Linked DNA regions of Homo sapiens: regions 2, 3 and 4 are each linked to region 1. The links are contacts of gene promoters, found by promoter capture Hi-C in human tissues and cell types (Jung and others, 2019). All regions are on one chromosome and are shown on one strand. Each heading gives the region's core, a stretch centred on a gene start or on the middle of the fragment in contact. The rest is flanking DNA. Distances are from core to core; before and after follow the strand shown.

The links. Contacts are between HindIII fragments. The study calls those that stand out against the background at their distance.
Region 2: a contact is called between a fragment that was not itself captured here and the fragment with the promoter of PDLIM3 in region 1, in 2 of the 25 tissues and cell types used here (heart left ventricle and stomach).
Region 3: a contact is called between a fragment that was not itself captured here and the fragment with the promoter of PDLIM3 in region 1, in 2 of the 25 tissues and cell types used here (adrenal gland and neural progenitor cells).
Region 4: a fragment that was not itself captured here is called in contact with the fragment with the promoter of PDLIM3 in region 1 in 3 of the 25 tissues and cell types used here (adrenal gland, heart left ventricle and thymus).

The regions. Positions count from the first base shown.
Region 1 is chr4:185,534,214-185,536,883 of GRCh38, reverse strand. PDLIM3 (PDZ and LIM domain 3) reads left to right here and starts at 1,377. Exons shown (of 8, transcript NM_014476.6): 1 at 1,377-1,542. The coding sequence starts at 1,450. The HindIII fragment of the contact is 14,334 bases long and covers 1-2,629 here.
Region 2 is chr4:185,642,616-185,645,285 of GRCh38, reverse strand. The region is part of intron 13 of SORBS2 (sorbin and SH3 domain containing 2); the gene reads left to right. Among named protein-coding and RNA genes, the nearest start is that of SORBS2-AS1, 56 kb to the right of the region's middle. The HindIII fragment of the contact is 5,438 bases long and covers 1-2,670 here.
Region 3 is chr4:185,445,488-185,448,157 of GRCh38, reverse strand. All of the region lies in intron 7 of CFAP96 (cilia and flagella associated protein 96), which reads right to left. CCDC110 (coiled-coil domain containing 110) reads left to right here. Exons shown (of 7, transcript NM_152775.4): 7 at 2,616-2,670. The coding sequence ends at 2,656. Among named protein-coding and RNA genes, the nearest start is that of CFAP96, 21 kb to the right of the region's middle. The HindIII fragment of the contact is 5,331 bases long and covers 1-2,670 here.
Region 4 is chr4:185,465,030-185,467,699 of GRCh38, reverse strand. The region is part of intron 2 of CCDC110 (coiled-coil domain containing 110); the gene reads left to right. Among named protein-coding and RNA genes, the nearest start is that of CCDC110, 5.4 kb to the left of the region's middle. The HindIII fragment of the contact is 5,468 bases long and covers 1-2,670 here.

The DNA.
Region 1 (2,670 bases), core at 128-2,627:
TGCAAAGCCTTAGGAACTCATCAAGCCTGGGTGACAGATTAAGACTCTGTCTCCAAAAAAAAAAAAAAAAAACAAAAAGAAAGAACTCATCAGATATTATGTGGATATTGTATAGATATTGGCTACATCTAAATGATGCCAAAATGACCAGCAAAAAGGCAAAGAAAAAATCAGCTGTTTATATAAGCCAGCTCGTGAAGTAAGGTAAAAACAATTACTATAATTACACAACACCAAATGACTTGTCTGATTTTTTTTTTCTGAATGGACCTCTGTGTGTGTGCACGTGTATGTCTGCACCACGCAGACAGAGCCAGCAGCTGACTGAAGAAATGTGCTCTGCAGTGATACAGCCACAGCCCAAACAGGCAGTCAGCAGGACACACAATGTTCAGCTCCTCGATGGTCCAGCATAGATGGGGCACTGGGAAATGTGTGGAGCTAGAAAGTGCTTATCCCCTGGGACTTTTATGTAATCCACCACAGCGGACAAAGTAATGCCCATCCTACCTTTGTGATTTACATTTGCCCAGGCTGGTTCGCTTTGCTTACTGCTTACTGCTTACTGCTTTCTGCATCTCCTTTCTCTTTCCTCCATCAGTCTTAAAACTGCTTCCAAACAGACTGCCCTCTTAAAAGTCTGCTGCAGCTCTGTCCTCCTGGACCAATACGACCCTATCATATGGGGCATTAAGTCCAAGACCCTTATTCTTGAGTGTTTAAAGCATTTCTTATTTCTCTTCCCTCATTCTCCCCTCTCCCTTTGGGAATCACAACATCCCAACGCGTAACACCAGAAATACTTGAGTCCACACTGAGACTACCACAGGACCCCGGCCAGACTCTCCTGCACTTTGGGAGGCTGAGGTGGGAAGATTGTTTGAGCCCAGGAGTTCAAGACTAGCCTGGGCAACAAAGTGGAGACCCGGTCTCTAAGAAAAATAAATAAATAAAATAAAAATTTAAAAGGACATTAAGTAATTTGGCCAAAGCCGCAGAGGTCGTAAGTAAATATTAACGCACTCGAAACTGCTAAATAACTTATTGTATCGATGATGCTCGTTTTAATTGAAAGCATGGAGGCTGTGGTCTGGCTGCTTTCGCTTCCAACAAAGTGCACTGCTGCGCTCCAAGCAGAAGATAAACAGGGAGACAGGTGTGACTTCAAGAGAGCGACGGACGCTGTAACCCGAAGCCCCCGCGCCCGCCGCGGCCCGGGAGGCTGCCCCAGCCGGCCGGGCTGCGCACTCCCGCGGGGCTGGCGCGGCTCTCGCTTCCAAAGTTGGAGCTCTCCGGGGTGGGAGGGGGCGGGGAGGACGGCGGGGCGGTGACGTCACCCCCAGCGGGGATAAAGCGCCCCCGCCCGGGTCGGGGCCAGGACGCCGCCCGGCGCGGAGTGGCTGCCCTGCGCGGGGACACTTAGAGCCCGGTGGGCGGGAGGAAGGCGGCATGCCCCAGACGGTGATCCTCCCGGGCCCTGCGCCCTGGGGCTTCAGGCTCTCAGGGGGCATAGACTTCAACCAGCCTTTGGTCATCACCAGGGTAGGTGTCGGCATTCTTGCTTTTGCTGCGAGGTGGGGACTCCGGCGGCGTCCGGGGGGACGCAGTGGATGCCCCGGGGCCGAGGGCGGCCAGAAAGCGCGCGAGGGCGGGCGGACGGGGCGCTGCTGGCTCCCGGGCTTCGGCGCCCAGCTCCGGGGGCGGCGGCAACTCCGTCAAGTGGCTGCGGAGCGGCTCAGAGATTTGACAAAGTCCGCTCTAAAGGTGTCCCATCCTCTGGGTCCGCAGCGACTTTCCGAGGAGAGCCACTGGGCTCAGGGAAGGCGAGGCTGCCAGGCTCGAGTGCCTCCTCCCCTTTAGGTTTTAAATGTTTTATATGTGATAACAGAAATAAAACACACCCCATCGCCCTTCCGTAACAAATGATGGGTCCCGGGTGGGAGAGGCGAGGGACTGGCACCCCCCGGCATTCCCTGGAGCTGGCGCGCATCTGAGCGTTTTTCTCGTCCGGATGAAAAGTTCAGCAGCGCGCTGTTCGCGGGGCACGACCTGCGTTGGCCAAACTGGAGCCGCTCCTATCAGCCCAGACAGGGGAAGTCTTCCTAATGCTCACTCCTCAGTTTCCAGGCATTTTGAGCACGTTTTCCAAAGCTGAGAACTTGGCTTAGGAATTACCAACTTCTAACTCTAGCTACAAAGAAAACGTGGCAGACAGTTTAGTTTACCTGATGCAAAGTAAACCACTCAGCCTAAAACGGAAAATAATGCTTTAATGTCAAAGTCAAGCTTTACTTGGTGTTCTCTACTGTCTAATGAGAAAACAAGGTAAAAATAAAACCTCAGGGTTTCTCTCCTGTCAGTAAATTTGTAGAATTAATTCTAAAGCATTATTTGGTCTAGCTGGTTTTTTTCTAACACAATGTTTTTCTTCATAGAAAATTAATGTATTATTTCAGTTATCACATATAAAACATTTAATACCTAAAGGCGTAAACTTCCAGAATATTATACTTTTAGTTGCAGAGTATTATACTTTATTTTCTTGTATTCTTCTCATGCCATATTTTATAATTGTATGTGTTATAATCTGATTGATCTGCTCATACAGATTTTGAACAAGGTAATACCTTTTAAATTCTGTTTTATTTATATATGCCTATGAGATTTGGG
Region 2 (2,670 bases), core at 53-2,552, 110 kb before region 1:
CATCATTGCAGAAAATTGAAAACAGTGAAATAATATATCTCAGATTTAAATTAAATAACAAAATTTTAATGATCTTTCTAGTAATTTATGAGACTCTTAGGATAACGAACATGGTAATGGTATTGGAATGCTTTGGTAGCCGTGGTGTCAGGAAACAGGATTGGTTTTAGACGCTCTCCCACCACGATGTTTCTATTATTTAGTCATTCAGTAAAACTGACTGAGCACCAGCTACATGCCAGGCTTTATGTGAGGTGCACAGCGGGGAACAGGACACACTCTCTACCTTGAGGAACTTCAAGTCTATCATTTAATATCTATGCAAGACTAGATCTGAGTTTGTGCAAAGTAAACAGCCTCTTATATGGTTAAAACAGACGCACACCTAAAAAACCCTCCCTTTGCTCCCTTTAGGGTTTATACATTGACCCTATCATTGTTATTGAAATTGTCACATTACTCTTGTCTTTGGGTTAAAAAAGACTTTAAAGACTCCTCGTTTTACAATAGCAATAATAATAGCAATAGCAATCATTGTAAATCTTTATTGAGCACTCACTATATGCCAGGCGCTGTAATTAGTAATTTATGCCTTATCTCATGTAAAGTTTCCAGCAGCCCTATTAAGCAGACACATGGCATTTCCATGTTACAGATGAAGAGACTGAAACACACATTAGCTCGCCTTGCCCCAGGGACACATGGTGGGAGCCAGAACTAGGAGTTGAGCCCAGGCATACTGATGCCTGGTGCACTTGGTCGCTGCTGTACAGCCACTCCAGGTGTGGCTGAGCAGGAAACACATTGAAGTAGCAGTTATTTGATTCCCTTATTTGATGATTTTGCAGTATAAATTAATTTATTTATTGGCTAATTTACAATAAAGTATACTTGATTTACTTTATCAGAAACTTAGGCCCTAAGTAGTTACCACACAGGACCAGTAGATGTGACTGGTTGTAAGACAGGAAACTCTGGAGCCATGAGTGTGACAGAGATTCGAGTGTGGATAGGTCTCTGCAGCCACAGGAGAAGATAAGTAGAAGGAACTTAGAAACTTGGAAGGAAGTGAGAATGGCTATCTTATGGAGAAATAGAAAGAACCAAAAATGTTAACCCTCCTAAACAATTTTGGAGAGGACCAGCCTTAAGCAGAATGGTTTGAGCTGGCCATATGGGACATGTTGGCCAGCCTTTCCAGTGTAGGACCAGCTCATCATCTTTTTAAAAAAATTAGTCCTGACTTCGTTTCAATTGCCTCTATAAATTAGAAAACAAAAAGAGCCAAGTGGGCCGTGGTGATGTAGAGACTGGCCGCGTACTGATATAGTTTACATAAGATTCTGAAGTGTTGAAAATACAGGCTAGAGGTTGAAGAGCAGGCGTGCTGAATGAGAGTGGCGTCGCAGCGATGGCCAGCGCTGAGGGGTATCAAGGTCTTATTCATGCATTCTCATGTCTTTTGACTCCAAGATGCCTTGGAAGCATTCCTTTGCTCTTTTCATTTTCAATTTTTGAAAAATATACACAACACCTGGGCAATTCTGTGTTGCTCTTTTGAATCTCTACATGGCCTCTCCATCTGCCCACTTTTCCAAAGGGTCATCTTGGGTTTTCCCCTCTCCTGCAGTGGACTCAGTGTCGCCTGCCAGGAGAAGTGCCACTGCTGCTCCTCTCTTCTGGCCCACAATTGTCCGTGCCTGGGCTACAGTGACAGCCACCTGATTCATTTCCCTACCTCTCCAGTCTAGTCTCCACACCACAGCGAAGGCAATCTTTAGAAAATCTTTATAAAACCTCCAGCTCAAAATTTTCTCTGGCTCTTCACTGTCCTTCGAGCAAAATCTGAAACCCTGAGCATAATTTATAGAAGACCTGTGACTGGGCTCCAGCTGACCTCTCCAGCCTCATCTCTCCTCCCACCCTCCCTGCCTCGCTAGGTTCCAGCTGCACAGAGAACTTTCAATTCCCGCATTGCTGGGCCTCTGTAAAGGCTGCACCTCCCCACCAGGAAAAGCTCTCCCCACCACCTCTTCCTTCACATGGAGAATTCTATCCCATCCTCCAGGTCCCAGCACAGTCCCACCTCCCCCAGGGAATGTGCCTGACTCCTCTGCATTAGGTTGGAGGCTCTCCCTGCTGTGTGCCCATGGCACACTGTGTTCCTCATGAGATCTTGAGCTTCTTGAAGGCGAGGGCTGTGACTGGTCCACCAGTTGTATCCCAACACCTGGGACGATGCCTGGCCTGTAGCAGGTGTTCAGTGAATATGCATTCGTGGAATTTCTAAGTGAATGAAGGAACACAGGTTTCACCCTTGCAGTCAGTGGAAAAAGTTGGTGAGGGACTGAATCCTTGTTCTGTTGTTTATCCATGAAGCCTATATATTTCTAGTGCAAAAGGCCCAGTGGGTCTCAAAACATTCTTGGAGGGGTTTGACACACTGCTATTAGTAGTGACTCATAATTCCACGATTCCCTGGGATACAGAGAAGGCAGGGGGGTAGTACTGTTTGAACAAAAATCTTCCCAAGACCCTGGCAAAGAGATCTTCCTTAGGAATCAGTGGCATATGCGTTTATGTTCTTTAACAGGGAAAGTAAAAGTGAGCGCACTTTTTTGAAGCTCATAAATACTCATGTGACTGTAAATTTAGAAATGTTAATTAATT
Region 3 (2,670 bases), core at 126-2,625, 89 kb after region 1:
TACCAGCTACTTGGGAGGCTGAGACAGGAGAGTTGCTTGAACCTGGGAGGCAGAGGTTGCAGTGAGCCGAGATCACACCTTTGCACTCCAGCCTGGGTGACAAGAGTGAAACTCCATCTCAAAAAAGGAAAAAAAGACAAAACGTATTTCCAAAACCTGTTCTTTCAAACCTATATATAGTATCAGCAAGACATAGTAGGCTTGGAAAACTTAAATTGGCTAATTATTGCAGCTAAGAAGGACTATTCATTTCACCTACATTACCTCACTTATAATAGCATCTCATACATTAGTGATTTTGTATTAATTGCATAGTTTAGCTTCTATTTGGTATCATAGCAATTTAGAGCTTCTGTCAAAGTAGTATTAGAGTTTGGGGGGTGGTTATTTTATTTTACATAAAATGTGAATGTACTATCCTTCCAGTTAATTGCAGTGATACTATATTACTGAAATTGAATTCATAGGAAAGACACTGGTTCTAATACTCCTAATGAGATGCATACATGGCTTAATACAGATGTCATAGTATTGGAGGCCACTGAAATACACACAGCATTCTGTAGTTAACGCTAGTGACACATACAAGTGCTCAAGAAAAAACTTCACTTGACAAACGCTTTATGCACTTGCCATTTGGGACATATTGAGATAAATGTTTTGAAAAAATATAAAATCGGCCGGGCGTGGTGGATCAAGCCTGTAATCCCAGCACTTTGGGAGGCCAAGGTGGGTGGATCACGAGGTCAGGAGATCAAGTCCATCCTGGCTAACACAGTGAAACCCCGTCTCTACTAAAAATACAAAAATTAGCCGGGCGTGGTGGCGGGCGCCTGTAGTCCCAGCTACTCGGGAGGCTGAGGCAGGAGAATGGCGTGAACCCGGCAGGTGGAGCTTGCAGTGAGCCGAGATCGTGCCACTGCATTCCAGCCTGGGCGACAGAGTGAGACTCCGTCTCAAAAAAAAAAAAAGAAAAAATATAAAATCAAACATAGCTATATGTAACAAAATAACTATCATACAAGGTATAACATATATGGAATGACTATAACACATAAAAGACAGGTTTGAGATAGAAGTTCAGTAGAAGCTCCATGTGAGGATATTAGCAGACTTTAGAGAAGAGATGATAGAAGATAGAAGGCAGAATGAACAACCTTACCAGCAATGTAGTAGAGTAGGTTAAAAGAAAGTACATGTATTTCATGAGGCTCAAAAAAAAGATGCATGAAAATAACAAGAAAGACAACAGGAAAGCAGGTTATAGCCACCTTACAAAGGAACTTCAGGTTTTTAAGCAAATGTTTGAAACTAGATGGCATCTCAAGCTAATTAGTCCCCATGAAACCAGAAGATAACTTCAATTTTTTTTATAGAAAACACATCTTAAAGTACATAAAATACAGTAAAATCATGTACATCACAAAAAATGTTGTGGGCTATAGATACTATGTCTGAAGTAACAAACTATATAACATTTAAAATTTTCCTTATGTAAAATCATTTTTTGCTAATCTTGCAAACTCTCAACATAAAATTTAGTACTAGGTAGTCCCTGATTGATATAAAGCTTAAGATGCCCAGAAATTTTTTTTCAACTTAAGCAACTGACTAGATCAAAATAATTCAGTCAGAAAATTGGATACATATTGAAGCTCTAAATGGATGTTGAGTGAGAGAATAAAGTGAAAAAAGGCCATTGTTAGGTATCCAGGGACCACAGAATCTTCTCAGTAGTCTCATGAGCAAGAAGAGTAGTACAAGTATGAACACCATCTAAGTTAGAGCACCCCAAATTATCAAAGTTTTAAGACAGTATCAACTTACTATGAAGTCTTCTTTCCCAAAAGAATTCATGTATTCAAAATCATATTTTGATTAGGTAAAAGTTAACACATAGCACTGGTATTTTTAATTCATAAAAATGTTAAGTAATTTGTCTTTAGCTGATTAGTTCTGCTGATAAATACATTGTTCTAAAGAACTTAACAAGTAGTCAATCAGAAATACACCTTTGTGCTGGGCGCAGTGGCTCACACCTGTAATCCCAGCACTTTGGGAGGCTGAGGTGGGTGGATCACCTGAGGTCGGGAGTTCGAGACCAGCCTTACCAACATGGAGAAACTCCGTCTCTACTAAAAATACAAAATTAGCCGGGTGTGGTGTTGCATGCCTGTAATCCCAGCTACTCGGGAGGCTGAGGCAGGAGAATCGCTTGAACCTGGGAGGTGGAGGTTATGGTGGGCCGAGATCACGCCATTGTACCCCAGCCTGGGCAATAAGAGCGAAACTCCGTCTCAAAAAAATAAAAAAGAAATACACCTTTGTAATAAAGGGCAGTTTTATTTTTGTGAAATAATACTAATGTTAGTATTATAATTGCTGTCCCCAAGTGTTAAAGATGTACTACTGTTTTTATAAAAGAATGTAAATTTAGTGTCCTTTAGACACAGAATAACTGATTGTTTTTACTCCAAAGAACTTTTTCAGTTTTGAGAGTATGCAAAACCTGGATAAAATTGAAGTTTTAAGATACCTTGATAATATACTTTTTCTCAAAGCATTATAGTTATGTTGGCATTTTTAATTAACCAGAATATTTTCTATTTTCATAGGTTATTTCAAAGTTAAAGACAGAACTCTCAAGCATCATTAGGATTCCTCAAGATT
Region 4 (2,670 bases), core at 59-2,558, 69 kb after region 1:
TACAATATTTTTTGCAGGCTCAGAATAAAAATTACCTCAAAAGTCATCCCATTGATAACTACCTTGTTTTTCACTTTTGACAGAAATATGAAGCAGCTGGAAAATTTAAGTTGAATATGAGATGAGTAATATTCTTACATTCCCAATAAACTCTCATCTTGGTGGGTGGGACCATGCCTTCCGCTTTGTTTATGTGCCTCCCGATATTGTATGTTTAGCAGGGACTTGGTAAATGGTGAAGTGTGATTGTGTTTTATCTCCTGGGTTCTTTGATAATTTCCCTTCCAATTCTAGAATCACGTAATTCTGTGTGACTAAGTATTGCCTAGTTTTTAAATTACCTTTCCTTTGGGAATAAGTAGCAGCCGATGTCTCTGAAACTCATAAGAAAAACAGAAAGTTATGTTAATAGCTTTTAAAAATAGATGAATCCGACTCCCTGCCTACTCTCTGCCTGTGCAGAATCATCTGAACTTTGCTGGAGAAAAACACTCACTTTTGAGTCATACCATGAATCTAAAATGCACTCTCAATGCTATTGGGAAAACTTACTTTATTTCCACAGAAAATTCTTCTTCAAATCCTCTGCAAAAAAGCTATTTCACTCCTCCTGTTCTCAAATCTTGAACACGTTTCTCCCTGGCCGCTCCACTCATAACATGGTCCCACTCTATATGAAAAAAGTAGAAGCACTCAGACCCAAACTCCTTCATTCTCACCCTTCACATTTGTGAAACCCATATTCTAGGTCTTCTCCCATTTCAACGGAAGAATTGTCCTTGATCAATCAAAAGTGATTTCCTCTGGATCTCATCTCTTGTGGAATTCTCAAGTCCCAGCTTCTGCAATTAGCCTCCCTCATTGTCCGGAATTATTGCTTTTCTCCCTTTCTACTATGTGATTCCAGCAGCAAACAAGCATGTTAGAATGTCCTGTGGTTTAAAAAAAAAAAAATTCCTTCTCTTAGCCAGATGTGGTGGCACACACCTGTGGTCCCAGCTACTCCGGAGGCTGACATGGGAGGATCGCTTGAGCCTTGGAGGTGGAGGCTGCAGTGAGCCAAGATCATGCCACTGCACTCCAGCCTGGGCAACAGAGTGAGACTCCATCTCAAAAAAAGAAAAAAAATCCCTCTTGACTTTCACATCTCTTCCAGGATGCACTGTCTTCCCTTCCACAGTGAAACTAGAAACAGTGACCTATCCTCCATGCCCACCAATCTCCACATTCCATTCTCTCCTCAAGCACTTCGTTCGGGCTTCTATGCATGTCCTTCTGCATGGCCAGCAGTGACATCTATGTTTGTTTGTTTATTTATTTATTTTAGATGGAGTTTCGCTCTTGTCTCCCAGGCTGGAGTGCAGTGGCACAATCTCGGCTCACTGCAACCTCCACCTCCCACGTTCAAACGATTCTCCTGCCTCAGCCTCCCGAGTAGCTGGGATTACAGGCACATGCCACCACACCCAGCAAATTTTTTGTATTTTTAGTAGAGACAGGGTTTCACCATGTTAGCCAGGATGGTCTCGATCTCCTGACCTCGTGATCTGCCCGCCTAGGCCTCCCAAAGTGCTGGGATTACAGGTGCGAGCCACTGCACCCGGCCCATCCATGTTGAATGATGTGTTCATTGCTGCTCCCATGAATCATACACTGGTAGACCCACCTGACTATTGGATATCTCTTCTTTGATGTTTAACAGACAACCTAGCCTTAACATATCTAAAAATGTTTTTCTCCTAAAGTATGTTCCTACTCTACTGTTTTCCCCCAGTAAATGACATCATCCCTCATCCATCTGCTCTCACCAAAAAACAAGGAGCCATCATTCATTCATCTCTCCTGGCCCCAACGAATCCTCCAGCAATGCTGCTGGCTTCATCTCCAAAGTATATTCTGAATCTACCTGCTTTCCCCACCTCCCCCACCACCATTCTAGTCCAAGATATCTTCATCTCCACTTAGATTATTGCGGTAGCCCTGCAATTGCCTTCTCACCCCACCCCATACTCTATTATCATGTAGCAGAGTGACCTGTAAACTTTTCAGTCAGATCAAATCATTCTCATGATGGAAACCTTCCAAAGTTCCCCGTTTCACTTGAAGGAAAAGCCAACCCGCTCAGCTTGGCCTGGAGGCTCTGCATAACCTAGCCCCTGTCTCCTGCTCCGACGTGTCCTCATCTTGTGCTCCCATGGGTCCACTAAGCTGCTTAGTAACAGTGCAATCACGGTGAGGCCAAAAAAGGAAGAAGAGATGGAAGATGGAAAATATATGTAGACAACATGTATAAATCCCATTGCTTTCTTTGAAATCTTTGATTTACTGTATCCCTTTATTAAGTCTGTACATTTCTTTTGGTCTCATATTTCTTATTTGGTTTTAGCTAAAGGAATCTTATATTTAGCTTTGAACTTGCAAATCCTCCTAATGAAAGGAAATCTGTACAGAAAAAGGAAGCTATTCCTGTAGGTATGGGAAGGAGATAGAATTTTGAACAGTTACATCACTCAGAATAGAGTTGAAGGCTGAATACATTTATGAGAATGATATCCTATCTTCGTGTTTAAATAAAGAGCTGTGTGGAAATTACAGTTACAGAACAGAATGTAAACATAAACCTTCACAGTGTATAAATCACATAACTAGCAAATACCATGAAAAGAGGGA